Regions from separate parts of the Homo sapiens genome. Here region 1 is linked to region 2. Evidence: promoter capture Hi-C in 16 types of primary human blood cells and fetal thymus (Javierre and others, 2016). All regions are on one chromosome and are shown on one strand. The core of a region is centred on a gene start or on the middle of the fragment in contact, and the rest is flanking DNA. Distances in the headings are between cores, read along the strand shown.

What was found. Contacts are between HindIII fragments. The CHiCAGO score rates a contact against its expected background, and 5 or more counts as called.
Region 1: a fragment that was not itself captured here is called in contact with the fragment with the promoter of COA6 in region 2 in 3 of 17 cell types (activated CD4 T cells, naive CD4 T cells and total CD4 T cells); the score reaches 6.5 in activated CD4 T cells.

What each region holds. Positions count from the first base shown.
Region 1 is chr1:235,493,998-235,496,697 of GRCh38, forward strand. It overlaps B3GALNT2 (beta-1,3-N-acetylgalactosaminyltransferase 2), which reads right to left. Exons shown (of 12, transcript NM_152490.5): 2 at 684-831. Among named protein-coding and RNA genes, the nearest start is that of B3GALNT2, 9.1 kb to the right of the region's middle. The HindIII fragment of the contact is 799 bases long and covers 917-1,715 here.
Region 2 is chr1:234,372,006-234,374,705 of GRCh38, forward strand. It overlaps COA6 (cytochrome c oxidase assembly factor 6), which reads left to right and starts at 1,451. Exons shown (of 3, transcript NM_001206641.3): 1 at 1,451-1,673; 2 at 2,225-2,384. The coding sequence starts at 1,462. COA6-AS1 (COA6 antisense RNA 1) reads right to left here and starts at 1,588. Exons shown (of 2, transcript NR_125961.1): 1 at 1,418-1,588; 2 at 802-1,205. RefSeq lists enhancers at 639-1,463, 1,285-1,834. The HindIII fragment of the contact is 9,162 bases long and covers 1-2,700 here.

The sequences.
Region 1 (2,700 bases), core at 66-2,565, 1.1 Mb after region 2:
ACTGAGAGCTATCTAATGTCAGCATGAAATGGATTACCAAAGCTCAGTTCCAGAAGGGTAGTCAGGAAAAAGAGCATGGCATATTACACATACTGCAGATTACACAACTAAAAAATACTACAAAACTGAAAAAAATTAAATTTATCTCTGTGAAGTTAGTGAAAAGTATATTTAGACATGCACATGTGTCTAAGGAGAGAACTGCTCTAGAACAGAACCTTTTAAGAATTGCTATTCTAAATCAAAGCAAAAAACAAACAAACCACACTGGGTATCTAAATACTACACGTTAACCAGTGAATATACTCTCTTCCAATTATCATTTGGCTTAAAATGTTGGTTAAATTTACTTTTTGGCCCAAACTATATGGAAGAAAAGCAAATGAAACAGCCATTTCTCCCAGGAAGAGCCCACATATCTGAATGAACATTTCTATTCAAAGTAAGGTTTTTCAGAACTTTTTTTTTTTTTAAATTAGGCAGGGACTCATTCCCATCATGCAGGCTAGAATGCAGTGGTGCAATCATGGCTCACTGCAGCCTCAATTTTCCAAGCTCAAGCAATCCTTCCACCTCAGCCTCCCCGGTAGCTGGGACGACGGGCACACACCACCACGCCTGGCTAGGTTTTTCAGAACTCTTATTTCAATAAACCAGGCAAGGCAACAACTCAGAAAACCTACCGTTGACTTAATGTGGGATGCTGTAGCAAATGTCTCATCCAGGTGCTTCTTATCACGTTTCGAAGTTCATGGTTATTGCGAGCTGACAACACGCCAACTACCACATCATAGTGAGTAGATTTCCACTGAGGAAATAAGGCCAACTGATCTAGAAATAAGAACAATACATGAGAAATAAGTCATGTATCAATTACTATGAAGTTCAATATGTATCATAAGTTTATTACAAAATAAGCTTATGTTTGTAGGAAATTCAGATAAACACAAAGAAAAGAATTTTTAAATCACATATGAACCCACTATCCAGAGACAACCACTAATAACATTTTGGTTTAGAGTATTTTTGTCTTTCACGTATATATGTATGTATTCATGCTCACGTAAGTATACTAATTCTTCAAAACAAACAAGATGTGGTAAGAATCTGTTTCAAAAGGCAACGTAGCATAAAAAAATAGTAGGCATTAAGAGTCAATTAGGCCACAGTTAGAATCCAGGCTCTATCATATATTAACTATAAGTTATTTAGCTTCTTGAGCCTCAGTTTCCTCAACTACAAAATGGGTATAATAATACTTCTCATAAAGCTGTTGTAAAAATTAAATGAGATAACATGTATAAAGCTCTTGGTTTGGTATTAGGCATATATGAGGCATTCAATGGCAACTAAAAAAAATGTGCTTTGAAAAGTGAGGTCCTACATTAATGTTAGTTATTAAGTTTGGCGGATGACGCTGAAGGACTTCCATACCGGAAAGTAATGCAACCCTTATTTATATCAATGAATTCTATAGCCAGTAAACCTTTCACTACCTACAAAATATTCTGAAGAATGACGGGAAAGCAACACTTTTAGTAAAAAAAAAAAAAAATAATAATAAAGTAAGTCATTCTGAACGGCTCATTTTTTACTGTCAGAAGGTCTAATGGGCAGGGTTACATTTCCATGTAAAACTTGTCCTTAGAAGACAGAAGAGAAAGATATACTTTGTCCTTGTTTTTCATCACCAGTTTTAAGGCTTGAGAGCTACAAGCTTATATATAGCTCTGATGAGGTATCCATTTCATCTCTTTCTCCAGTGGTGGGAACTGATCCAAAACGTTTCCAAAAATAAATTATTGAAGCCCAGACTCTTTACTATATTAAATGCAATGTTTTTATATACCATGGGATCTAGGTATTCAGTCTAAAAGACAACAAAACCAGGTTGATATTTTCTTCAAAGGCCCAATTAAAATAATAAAAACAGATCTTTCTACTAGGATAGTTTTAAGGATATAATACAGAAATTTTTGTGTAGATACCTTATTTTCCACAATAGATATATTTCTTAAAATGTTTCATTCTGGGCCAGGCACGGTGGCTCATGCCTGTAATCCCAGCACTTTGGAAGGCCGAGGTGGGCGGATCACCTGAGGTCGGGAGTTCAAGACCAGCCTGACCAACATGGAGAAACCCTGTCTCTACTAAAAATACAAAATTAGCCGGGTGTGGTGGTGCTTGCCTGTTATCCCAGCTACTTGGGAGGCTGAGGCAGGAGAATCTCTTGAACCCGGGAGGTGGAGGTTGGGGTGAGCCGAGACCGCGCCATTGCACTCCAGCCTGGGCAACAAGAGTGAGACTCCACCTGAAAAAAAAAAAAAAGTTCCATTCCAAATGGAATAGAGGTATTTATTATTTCACTCTACAATGAGTCATGTACTAAAACGAATTCTTTTATAAAGACAATTTATTTTTAAATAAATTCAAATTTTCATGGATTAAGCTTATTAATAGGCCATATTTATTGAACAGTTAATCTGTGAAAAGCACTACATATAGAGTATCATTTAATGTTCACAACCCTATGAGGTAGGTACTTGTTTCTTTTTTTTTTTTTTTTTGACGGAGTCCCACTCTGTGGCCCAGTCTGGAGTGCAGTGGCGGCGATCTCGGCTCACTGCAACCTCTGCCGCCCGGGTTCAAGTGATTCTCCTGCCTCAGCCTCCTGAGTAGCTGGGATTATAGGCGCCTGTC
Region 2 (2,700 bases), core at 201-2,700:
TTTTACAGTTCTTTATTGATTTCTATCTTAAATGCACTGTAGTAAAAAATGACAATTATTTCAATTTTCAAAATTTCTTGAGTTGCTTTATAACTAAGTATGTGGTTGACTGTGGTGATGTGTCTGCTTTCAAAAAACTGTACATTCTGATTTTGGTCGTGTTGTTCTGTACATATTAATTGCGTCATTTTTACATCATGTTATTCACGTTTCCTATATCCTTAACTTTTCTCTTGCTAGTCTTAACGATTAGTGAGAAAGTCCTGTTAAAATTACCCAATATGACCAGGCATTTTTTTTCTTTGTAATTCTGTCACTTCACTTTGTTTCATATGTATTTTTCATTAGGTACTTATAAATTTTAAATTTAAAACACATTTCCTTTTTAGACTCAGAAGTCATCTAAGACTCTTTCCTTTCATTCCTTTTATATCCCATCAGTCATATTTAAAAGATATCTATATGTAAACTGACGTCAATAGACATGATGTAAAAGAAGGGGGTGGCTCTGGTAAAGCTAAAGTAACTCCACTATGAGAGTGCATTAACTATGGGGGAAATACTTTCTATATTGCAGAACACATATTTGGTGGTACGTAGCCTCACATCGCCACCCGGAAAAGTCTGCATATATTGAATTTGGAATGGATCAAACTGCACTGAGTGCAAAATTGTAAATTGCATCTTATATAAATGTTTTAGAACTAGATGATGGAGCAGATGGGATCTATTAAGAGAACGGGGTGCCAGATGACTGACCATAAACATGCTTTTTAATAAAGACTCTGCTGAGAGATTAACTCATATATTTTCTAAAATTTTTATTTCTTGTTCATTTTGTTTCTAAGATATTCACTCACATATTAAAAATAACAACGTCTCAAAACATTTGAAGCAACTCTCTTCATCCCTTTTAAAAATACCTTGCTGTTTCGGGGGTTAAAAAAAGCCACAAGGGAGATTAAAACAATACAAATATTTATTTTCCCAACTCCCCTGCCATGGGTTCTGGGACGTCACCGCCTCTTTCTGGGGCCCGTTTCATCCTTTTCTTTTAATCCAAGAAGCGATGGTGTTGTGCGCCTGTAGTCCCAGCTACCTGGGAGGCAGGCTGAGGTGGGAGGATCTTTTGGGTCCAGGATTTTGAGGCTGCAGTAAGCCGTGTTCTCACCACTGCACTCGAGACTGGGCGGAAGAGCGAGACACTGTATCAAAAACAAAACAAAACAAAACGAGAAGGCATCGCGGCTCTGTAACACTCCGTCCAGCTCTCGCACTCTCAGATGCAAACTTCCACACAAACTCCTCGGCTCGCCTTGTCCCGCGGGACTAGCATATCAAGCCTTCCGGGACACACCGTGCGATGATATATACGTATATACCCCTCTTGCCCTTGAAGGCCGGAAGTCGGTCTTACAGATAAAAGCGAAACAGGAAGTCCCGCCCCTCTATGGAAAGTAAATGGTAGCTCGGAAGGGTCAAAAGAGTCCGCGGTTTCGCCGCGTGAGTTGCTTTTTGCGGCTGGGGAGGTCTACGCTTCTAGAGCTTGAGCCAGCGGGGCGACCCTGCAGTGGCAGGACTCGGCACCGCGCCCTCCACCGCCGGTTGGTGGCCTGCGTGACAGTTTCCTCCCGTCGACATCGAAAGGAAGCCGGACGTGGGCGGGCAGAGAGGTCGGCTTGCTGATGGGTCCGGGTGGGGCGCGCGTGGACTATGGGCCCGGGAGGTCCCTTACTGTCCCCGAGCCGCGGGTTCCTCTTGTGCAAAACGGGGTGGCACTCCAATCGCCTGCTTGGTGATTGTGGCCCCCACACACCTGTTTCTACAGCGCTTAGGTTCGAACAGTAACCCTGTAAACTAGGCACTGCTGTCCCCGCTTTACTGGTGGGAAACGGGCTCGGAGAGAATAAATGAGCTGCCCTAAGCGACTGGGACAGAACCACAGTTCTCAGCCGGGCTTTCTGAGCCCACGCTGCCGCCCCAGCAGGGATCAAATCACACAGTGTGAGATAAGCCTCAAGAGCGGGTGGCCTTATGCTGCCACTGAGAACTGATTGGGTTCAGTTGCCTCATCAAAATCCCTAAGCATGGTTTTGTTTTGTTTTTGTTTTTTTTTTTTTTTTTAGTTTTAAAGGAAGAGGAGATTGACGGTTTTCCTCTTTCCTTATCTTCTCTTCAGATTACAAAGTTCATTGTTAATCTCAAATATTATTTTGGCCAACAGCTTCATCGCAGTAGGAATGGCAGCCCCATCTATGAAGGAAAGACAGGTCTGCTGGGGGGCCCGGGATGAGTACTGGAAGTGTTTAGATGAGAACTTAGAGGATGCTTCTCAATGCAAGAAGTTAAGAAGCTCTTTCGAATCAAGTTGTCCCCAACAGTGGGTAAGTCACACTTTGATGTGTTTCTCTTCCCTGTTAAGATACATCGAGCTTATACTGTGAGTGGTAGGCTGACATGAAGCGCTCTCTGAGGCATGTCAATTAACAGTTTCTTTGAGGCGCAGAGAAAACCTTGCCTGGTAATTCAGCCTTATTTGACGCACTTACATCAGCTAGATCTTTGGAGAATGTCAACTGACACATTAAAGAGCATCGAAAAACACAACAAACATATGAACAGTAACCAAAAAATTCCAGTTCATTTCACTGGTAGACTTTTCCAGGATCTTCTGAAGGGGTAGTATTTAATCTTGGGCAG